Linked DNA regions of Homo sapiens: region 2 is linked to region 1. The links are contacts of gene promoters, found by promoter capture Hi-C in blood cells and fetal thymus (Javierre and others, 2016). All regions are on one chromosome and are shown on one strand. Each heading gives the region's core, a stretch centred on a gene start or on the middle of the fragment in contact. The rest is flanking DNA. Distances are from core to core; before and after follow the strand shown. Region 1 holds the start of PRR5L (proline rich 5 like). Region 2 has its middle 28 kb from the start of TRAF6.

Region 1 (5,270 bases), core at 1,669-4,168:
TGGGATAATGAAACGAGCATTTTCCATAAGCCAGAGATGTACTGTGGCCAACCTCTGGGATGTGTAGGTCCTTCTGACAAGGACCACCAGGAGGAATGGAAATTTACCTTCAGAGAAAAGCTGACAGCACTTGTTGTGGCCTCAACTATCCTCCCAAAATTTATATGATGAAGCCCTAACCCCCAGGACCTTAGAATGTGACTGCATTTAGAAGCAGGACCTTTAAAAATGTGATTAAGTTAAAATGAACCCCTTAGGGTAGGCCTTAATCCTCTCTGACTGCTGTCCTTATAAGAAGAGGACATTTGCACATGCCAAGAGACACCAGGAATGCACACACAGAGGAAAGACCATGTGAGAACTCAGTGAGAAGGTGGCCATCCACAAGCCAAGGACAGAGACCTCAGGAGAAAACAAACCTTCCAACACCTTGATCTTGGACTTTTAACCTCCAGAACTGGGAGAAAATTAAGTTCTGTTGTTTAAGCCCGGGGCCCCCAACTCCCGGGCCATGGACCAGTACTGGTCTGTGGTCTGTTAGGAACCAGGCCACACAGCAGGGACAGAGAGAGCACGAAGCTTCATCCATATTTACAGCTGCTCCCAATCATTCACATTACCACCTGAGCTCCACCTCCTGTCAGATCAGCAGCAGCATTAGATTCTCATAGGAGCACAAACCCTATTGTGAACTGCGCATGTGAGGGGTCTAGTTTGCATGCTCCTTATGAGAATCTAATGCCTGATGATCTGTCACTGGTTCCCATCACCCCCATATGGGACTGTCTAATTGGAGGAAAACAAGTTTAGGGCTCCCACTGATTCTACACTGTGGTGAATTGTGTAATTATTTCATTATATATTACAATGTAATAATAATATAAATAAGGTTCTCAATAAATGTAATGCACTTGAATCATCCTGAAACCATCCCTACCCTGGTCTGTGGAAAAAAGTGTCATCTACAAAACTGGTCTCTGGTACCAAAAAAATTGGGGACTGCTGGTTTAAGCCCCTCAGTCTGTGATATTTTGTCATGGCAGTCCCAGCAAACTAATACGGCACTGCTTAGATGCCAGGGAACTAAGGAAGGAGTCTTATTAGGCAACCAGCTTCAAGGGACCAGCAACTCAGAGATCCCCAAAGATGAGAAATAATGGTGCTCTCTGAAGTATCCACAAGATTGTGCCTAGAGAGAAAGAACTAGGTTTACACACCCACCAGAACCTGCCACTGAAATGCCAGCTTGCCACAGCATTAACCAAGTACGGACTTCCAGCTCCTTTCCTGCCTCTTCTCTTTTCCCCTTCCCCCTGCCAGGAGTCAGAATCATCAGTAAGCCAGAGGAGAGAAGGATGGAAGCTTAACGTGGGAAATGAGAAGCCAACCACAGACCCCCTTTCCAAGCTGCAGGCCCCACTGGAGGAGGGAGAAAAGTCTCCACTGGGAACCAAATTCAAAGATCTGGCTGATTCCCTGGGACTGGACATCCCAATTGCTGAATGAGGCTGTGCTGGAACTAAAAGCGACTTAAGAACTTTTGATTCCTGAAGGGGGCCCATAAGAGTTGTGGACCTACCTTAATTTTCATCCCAGGGCAAGGGAAGAGGGAGGACCTGCTGAAAAAAATTAGGGACAATGATAGGCAAAAATAAAGTTTGCTTCCATAATATACCATGAGTCCTGTGTATTTGACGTATGTTCTCTTACATATGAGGCAACTTAGCCTGGTCTCTGGCCAAAAAAGAGATACCACTCATTGAGCAATTCTTACCCTTTCAAATTCCTTCACTGTCGTCATTGAGCAATTCCATCTTCTTCAAGCAAGACAAAAGCTGATGCCAATAGAAAAATCATTTAAAATAAACAAACGAAAAAATTCCTTAAGCTGTCAACTTGGGTGCAGATGTTCTATGAAGCCAGAAACTGAATGTCACCCTCTATACACCATGACCTAGAGAAGCAGAATAACTCCAGACCAGCAGGGCTGGGCGGGTCTAAGATTCCCATACTACTTAAGAGAAAACTGAATTCAAATCCAGGCTCTGCCATTTAACAACTGTGTGACCCCGGGTGAATGACTTAAATTATCCGTACTTCAATTTCCTCATCCATAAAATAGAGATCATAAAGTATCTATCTGATGAAATAGCTGCAAAACAGTTAGAATGCTGCCTGGCACAGGGCAAAGGACTCACAATACACATAGCTATCATCATATATCATTGCCTCTCAAAGTGAAATATTGTGATGACCTTGGTTTATTAGCAGGATGTTGTAAAAAAAAATGCTTTACAAGGGGCATGATGACGAAAAGCGCAGATTCTAGAACCCGACTCCCTGGGTTTGAAAGAAGCAAGAATCTGAGGCATGTTGTATAAGGGTTTGCTATCATTACTATTCATTCAATGAGAGACATACAGTAATAGGTATACATATGCAATACATAGAGAAAGAGCTTAGTACTAGCAGCTATTATTAAGGCAACAGCCACCTCAGTAAATCTACATGGGCCATGAAGACCCTGGTCACCCAGAGATATCAGAGGCACTGAACAGGGCCAGACAGACAGAGGGTATTTTTCTAACTGGGAGGCTGCTGAACTTGACCTCTGTTGCTTTTCATTATTTATTTAACAGCAGATGGTGGCTTTCAAGAAAATCGGATGTCTTGAAGCCAGAAACCCATCCTCCTTGGGCTGGATACTCAGCCATCCCCTGCAACCCCACCCCCTAGCCCCAAGCTCTCATTGTCTCTCTTGTGTTACCTGGTCTGGTTTCTTCTTCCAGGGCAGGTCCCACCTTGCTGGGGAGAGGTGAATGACCATGGCCTTCCAGCCTCCCGAGAAGGGGATGTTCCAACGGGCGCAGAGATCTCTGGGCCTGGCTTGCCACTCACTGACCTGGGGCCTGAAGACTGACAGAGAAGCAGGCAGAAAATATAAAAAGCTGATACCCCCTGCAGGAAATCATTGTTTAGCCCATTCCAGACTAAAAAAACAAGTGCAACATTGGAGAAAGGAGGGTAAAGTGTCATTCGGGGCCATTGTTACAGCGGCTGCTCTGTGTGGTGGGGAAACAAAGCAGGCCTGTGTATGTGAGGACAATGCTGTTGTGTTACTAGCTGCTTCTGTGTTACTCCTGGGGACAGGAGGATGAGAAACGAGGCCACAGTGTCTTCCCTGGTGGACTTCACTCATCATAGTAGCCAGGCCAATCAGAGCTGGGAGAGGAATTTTGGACATTTAGCCCATGGCATTATGTAATAAGGGTCAGGGGACGTGCCTTCAGGTGTGACCACCTGCCTCTTTGTTAGTCTTCTATACATGAGAGATCACAAATGTCCCTCTCCTTTTCTCTTACTTGCTTTCAGAAACTTACCCCAAGTTAGAGCTGAAAAGAATGAGACATATCATTTCTCTAAACACAAATGTCATCCACTTCAATGCCTAACTTTTGTGATGGGACATCTGGCTGGGACTAAACCTCAGCCATGCAGCACGTTAGCAGCAGTTGGCAAGACTAGATGAATATTATAAAGCTTGCACCCACTGAACCCCCATAATGAACCAGACACTAGGTCATGAGCAACCTTGCAAAATGACCTCATTCGCTCCTGACTTCAAATTCTGACTCTGCAACTATTACCCATGGACTGTGAGCAAGTGTTTTCTCTGGGTGTTAGTTTTCCCATCTGTAAACCGGGATTATGATTGGGTTCCTAGGAGGATTAAATGAATTAATATATGCAAAACTCTTAGAACAGTGGCTGGCCCATAAAAGTGATCAAGAACCACAAATCACAAATTAGATGCCCACATTACACCTGAAACTTGCTTGTACTCATGAGGAGATGGTATGGGGATGGCTGGAAAGCCAGGATCCCAAGTGTCTGTATTTAGCCCTGTTACCTACTATGGCCTAAGTTCACCCTGTTAGGTCCCTGAAGGAATTGGGCACTAATAAATATTCTCAAGTATGAGACAGGTGACAAATGTGTGGAGAGGGCCCACTGTGATGCAACAGTGTGTGGCGGGAACTGTGGGGATTTGAAAGCTCACACCAGTCTTCAGAGGGCAGCCAGGGCTCAGCCTCAGCCAAATACTGCAATGCAGAAAGGTGGAAACAGCATGGTTGGGCCTGCACATTTTTAAAGAAAAGCCAGAAGGCTGGATTTTTTATGTCGAGTTTTCCAATTTTGAAACACTGTGGACCAAACACAACATTGTTAATGCAATGTGAGCCCTAGATCATGCAGTTTGTGATGCCTGATCTGGAAATTTCCAGATTTCCAGCATTTCCAAGCCAGTGCAACCCTGCTGACACTCAGAGCTTTTGTCCCCAACTTGCGCTACGGTCTGAGTGTATGCGTCCCCCACAAATTCATATGCTGAAATCTTCACCCCCAGGTGATGGTATTTGGAGGTGGGACCTATGGGGGGTGATTAGGTCATGAGTGTGGAGCCCTCATGAATGGGATTAGTGCCCTTATAAAGAGGCCCAAGAGAGCTCCCTTGCCCACAGCCACCATTTGAGGACACAGTGAGAAGACACCATCTGTGAACCAGGAAACCGTCCTCATCAAACATAGAATCTGCCAATGCCTTGGTCTTGGACTTCCCAGCCTCCAGAACTATGAGCAACACATTTCTGTTGTTGATAAAGCCACCCAGTTTATGGTATTTTGTTATATTAGCCCATATGGACTAAGACGACTGGTGAGCTGATCAGGCCACGTCAAAGCCACAAAGGGGGCATAAAGTCAAAAAGATTGATCAGCCCTTTCCCCCTGCAACCCACCCTCATCTCTGGACTGAGACAAAGGTGAGGAAAAGGGAAACTAGGGGAATAACAGGAGGGTGGCAAGGGCTCTCCTTAAAGGACTGCAGGACCCTGGGCCTAATCCACCTCCTGCAGGCATTCCTCTGACAAAGAAGGCAGCCAGGACTTAGTAGTGAAACCAAAGGGGAGAATAGGAGTTTATTTAAGCTTCCATAACCTTCATCAGTTACCTCAAATGAACCAAAGTAGCGTAAGTGACAAAATGTGTTTGCTATGCAAATGCACCTTAAAAACAAGACTGCTCACAATGAGATACCACTTCATACCCGCTAAGATTGCTATAATCAAAAAGACAGAACCAGTTACAAAATGTGTTTGATATACCAATGCAACTTCAAAACAAGACGGCTCACAATGAGATACTACTTCATACCCACTAGGATCACTATAATCAAAAAGGCAGAGCCAGATGCAGTGGCTCCCATCTGT
Region 2 (5,270 bases), core at 1,724-4,223, 240 kb before region 1:
GCCATGCGTGGTGGCGGGCGCCTGTAGTCCCAGCTACTCGGGAGGCTGAGGCAGGAGAATGGCGTGAACCCGGGAGGTGGAGCTTGCAGTGAGCCGAGATCATGCCACTGCACTCCAGCCTGGATGACAGAGAGAGGCTCCGTCGCAAAAATAAATAAATAAATAAAATAAAGAAAAGAAATGTTAAGTATTGCTCTTTGAAAAGTTCACTGGCACTAGTAAGGCTCTGGGGGTCTGGCAAGCTTCAATTGGCAAGTGACATCGGTGAGTAAAATTAATCTTAGAGCTGTAGCAGGTTGTCTCAGAAACCATTAGACAAAACTGGTTGAAGATTACAGCAGGCAATTTCAGTAGGCAGGTTTGCAGAGAATTACATTCTTGGAGCAATGTTATGTGTTCTGACTGCTTCTCCCCCCGGCTTCTCGACTCTGTTTTAGTTAGGTATAACAAGAATGACTCAATTTGTAGGATCAATGTTCACACGACCAGCCCTCTAGCACTTTTAAGCATAAACATTGTGCTAGACAGGAATTATAGAACACAATAACCTGCTGCTTGCAAGCTACAGGTTAATTGAGCAGATGATATTAAAGCTATTGCTATTAATGGATGGAACAAAATAGAACATAACTGCTAAGTGACATGACAGAAACTAAAAGAAATGTTTCAGAGGAGATTCATAGAAGACCAAATGAATTCTTCTTTCCCAAATGTCCCTTTAAAATACCTGTGATTTACATTCAAAAGGAGAGAAAATTTCAGCAGTACTTGATATTAGTAATAAAAACTGGGGCTGGGTGCAATGGCTTATTCCTGTAACCTCAATATTTTGGGAGGCCGAGGTGGGCAGATCACCTGAGGTTAGGAGTTCAAGGCCAGCCTGGCCAATGTAGTGAAACCCTGTCTCTACTAAAAATATCGCCAGGCGTGGTGGCAGGTACCTGTAGTCCCAGCCACTCTGGAGGCTGAGGCAGGAGAATCGCTTGAACCTGGGAGACAGAGGTTTCAGTGAGCTGAGATGGTGCCACTGTACTCCAGCCTGGGCAACAGAGCAAGACTCTGTCTCGAAAAAACTAAAAACAAAAAAAACTGGACATATGCAAGATCCCCAGAAGAAGTCTCTAAAGATTAGCAGATGATGGGTAGACAGAGTCTATATTAGTCACCTAGGGCTGCCATAACAAAACACCACAGACTGGATGGCTTAAACAAGCATTTATTTCTGACACTTCCAGAGGCTGGAAGACAAAGACCAAAGTGTCAGCAGGCCTGGTTTCTCTTGAGGCCTCTCCCTTTGGGTTGCAGATGACTGCCTTCTCGCTGTGTTCTTCCATAGCCCTCTGTGCATGCATCCCTGGTGGTGTTTCTCTTTCCTTATAAGGATACCAGTCTTATTGGGTTAAGACCCCACCCTTATGACCGCCTTTAATCTTAATTACCTTCTAAAAGCCTGATCTCTAAATACAATAACACTGGGGTTGGGCTTCAATGTGAGGGGTACACAAATGTGAGGGGTACACAATTCAATCCACAAGAGTCTCAATCCATTCATCAATTTTTGCAGAGAAAATTGCCTGGAAGAAAAACAGAAGAAAAAGACTGAGAAGTAAGGGGAGGGAGAAAAGAGAAAGTGCATTAATGATTGAATTGAGGCCTCTTCCTGAGCGACAGGACAGCCCCATGGACAGGTTCCAGCTTGGAGATGGGTGGGAAGGGAGGTGACCCTGATGAACTGGGCAGCCCAGAGCAAAAAGGCTTTGGAGCATGAAGCTGAATTGAAAATCCGCCTCAGATAAGAAGCTGTCACAAGTATTTGAGAAGCAGACTTCAAAGGCAAGAATAAAAATTTATTTCAGCCACGCATCACTGCACTAACCAAGAAATCAGCCAGAGGAAAAAAGGTTAAAGACTCCTCAAAAAACCGCTCGAAAACTTCACTGTGCCTTTTCGTAACTGCAGCTTTAGACGCATGTAAGATTTATGCTGAGTTCAATGAACATGTATTTGTTTTACCATCTAAAAGAAAATGCGTGAAACTAAAAGGAACCTGCAAAGTGTACAACAAACCAAAAACCTACCCCATTTGCTCTTATTCTTCCAAATAATAACCTATCGAATAGAGCAAGAACAATTTCAATGTGAGTTTGTTTGCTTTTGCATTTGGAAAGAAAGCTAGCATTGCCTTTTCTATATGTGGTAGATTTGGGCTTTACACCCAAGCAGGAGCTGCAGCTAGCATTTGGGACTGCAGCTGGCCCCTGGATGGCACCCTGAATGGTGATAGGAGAAATAGGCAGCATACTGTTCTTTAACACTACTAGCTCTACATAGAATTCTCCTCTTTCAAGGATCAGTAATAGAACAAAATCAATGTGATATCTATGAAGAAATTCTACAGTACAAGGAAAAACATTTTTAATGACCAAATACTTTAGTAGAAAAGGCTTTTCTAAAACAGAAGAAAAATTGCAACATTTTTACTTTTGTTCCTATAAGGACTTGCCTCCATTGAACAAGTAAGGGCCTTGGTAAGAAGATCAGCCAAGAAGAAAGTACAATGAAACTAACACCCAAGCAGAAGGGATAAAATAAATTTATGCTTTAAAAGACAATTTTACAACGTAATGCAGAAGACAAACTGGAGGAACGATCTAAGATTGCATAAGAAATGAATAAAGAGATGAAAATAATCAGGGAAAAAAATGGAGATAGATACTATAGGATAAGTGAAATGGTGAAAAGACATCCAAGAAATGGTGGGTGTTCCCCCAAAGATAACTGAATCAAATCAAATGAAATGTAATGCAATCATTATTCAAGATGTAATTAAAGTCAGTTTTCCAGAGCTAAAACAAAGCTTTAGCTTTTTAGGGCTTATCACCATACTCTCATAAAGATAATGATCAGAAATCTCCTCAAGGCATAAGTTATTAAAATTTTAAAATTTAAAGAATAACAAAGGATCTTGAAAAAATCTTTTTCAAAGAAAAATACTTACCTTTGAAGCACAAAGATAAGGAAGTATGATAATATAAAATGACTTTTCTATGCTATTTGATATTTTATTTGATTTCTTCTGTTTAAGCTTTACAGAGGTATAACTGATAGATTAAAAAAATATAAATTGATGCACAAAAATGTACACATTTGATGAGTTTTGACATGTATATACACCCATGATACCATCACCACAATCAAGACCCTAAATATGTTTATCACCTCCGAAAATTTTCTTATGTTCTTTTACATTTTGTTTTGTTTTGCTTTTGTGTGAAGAACACTTAACACGAGGCCTAAACATATTTATTTAAACATATTTTAAAGTGCACAATACCATATTGTTAACTATAGATACTAGGTTGTACAACAGATCTCTAGAACTTACTCATCTTACATAACTGAGGCTCAACAGGTATAAAGATTTTTTATTTCTACTAAAGTTAGGAAAATGATTTCTGCCTCTGAATTGTTTTATTGTTGTTGTTTGTTTTGTATTTAAAGTGAATATATTGGCCGGGCACGGTGGCTCACTCCTGTAATCCCAGCACTTTGGGAGGCCGAGGCAGGTGGATCACAAGGTCAGGAGATCGAGACCATCCTGGCTAACACGGTGAAACCCTGTCTCTACTAAAAATACAAAAAATTAGCCGGGCGTGGTGGCAGGCGCCTGTAGTCCCAGCTACTCGGGAGGCTGAGGCAGGAGAATGGGGTGAACCCGGGAGGCGGAGCTTGCAGTGAGCTGAGATCGTGCCACTGCACTCCAGCCTGGGCAACTGAGCAAGACTCCGTCTCAAAAAATAAATAAATACATAAGTAAATTTACTTTATATATGTAGTATAAATATAAAATTTTTATTTACTTTATAAAATATAAATATTTTATTTACTTTATATATCCTCATCCTTTCACCTACCTATGCTATTTTTCTTCTTATTTGTCTTTTAAAAAACTTTGAAGTATATTACACATACAAAATGTTTTTATGCACAGTACGATTAATGTTTATAAAGCAAATACCCATAGAACTACCACACAAATCAAGAAATAGTATCTTACCAGCATCTTAGATGCTCCTTTTTACTCACATCTTAAGAGTGAATGCTTCTTGGTTTTATTTTAGACTTTTAATACCTATAAATACCTCCCTAAGAGCAAGATTTTTGAAGTTTGTATAAATAAAAGAGCAATAAATTTTTTTTCTGGCTTCTTTCATTCAACATGATGGTTAAGATCCAGCCCATTTGTTGTGTATAGGTCTATTTTAGTTGGTTTCATTGCCATATTGTATTGTATAATATATCAAAATTTACTTAAGCATTTTACAGTGGGTAGCCATTTGAATTGTTTCCAGTTTTAACTAATAGTACTTCATTTCATTAGATTTTTTTAAGTTGTTTACAATTGGATTTGATGTTTTAATCCTATCCTTCCCTTGTAATAGGTGACTTCCATCCATTTATATTTCTTACTACAAATGATTCACTTGTTTCTATTTTTTATTACTTTAGCTTCCCTAAGAAGTGAAAGACTCACCTAGTTAACTCTGCAGGAAAGAAAGAGAACTTGATAGATATCCACCTGGTCTAGCAGATCTGAAAGAGATGAATGCCTGATAGAGACCAGAAACTAAATTATACATAATCCACAATGATGAGCTAACAATAATTATTTTTCATGGGTTAATGATATAGCATTGAAATATTTAAAACAAAAAAAAGACTATAAATGGACAGAAATTCACTTGTAATAAGAAAACACACTACTATGTAATAAATTATATGTGTGTATCTATTTATTTATTTTATTTATTTATTTATTTATTTGAGAGGGAGTCTTGCTCTGTTGCCCAGGCTGGAGTACAGTGGCTCTATCTTGGCTCACTGCAACATCCACCTCCCAGGTTCAAGTGAATTCTTCTGCCTCAGCCTCCTGAGTAGCTGGGATTACAGGCACACGCCACCATGCCTGGCTAATTTTTGAATTTTTAGTAAAGACAAAGTTTCACCATGTTGGCCAGGCTGGTCTCGAACTCCTGAGCTCAGGTGATTTGCCCACCTTGGCCACTCAAAATGCTGGGATTATCACATCTGGCCTATATGTGAGTATATATTTAAACAATGCATATATTATAATTAACATGTTGAACTTGAAATAGATATATCTCAGACTTTACATCCTATTTTTTAAAAATGCTGACAACTTCTTTCAGGAATCCATGGAATTGTTGAACTTGAAATAGATATATTTCAGACTTTACATCCTATTTTTA

What was found. The method cuts DNA at HindIII sites, captures the fragments that hold promoters and counts their contacts. A CHiCAGO score of 5 or more calls a contact.
Region 2: a contact is called between a fragment that was not itself captured here and the fragment with the promoter of PRR5L in region 1, in 3 of 17 cell types (endothelial precursors, megakaryocytes and M0 macrophages). The highest score is 7.3, in endothelial precursors.

What each region holds. Positions count from the first base shown.
Region 1 is chr11:36,293,936-36,299,205 of GRCh38, reverse strand. PRR5L (proline rich 5 like) reads right to left here and starts at 2,918. Exons shown (of 9, transcript NM_001160167.2): 1 at 2,768-2,918. The HindIII fragment of the contact is 2,178 bases long and covers 1,365-3,542 here.
Region 2 is chr11:36,535,299-36,540,568 of GRCh38, reverse strand. It overlaps a transcript of RAG1 not described here. Among named protein-coding and RNA genes, the nearest start is that of TRAF6, 28 kb to the right of the region's middle. The HindIII fragment of the contact is 228 bases long and covers 2,860-3,087 here.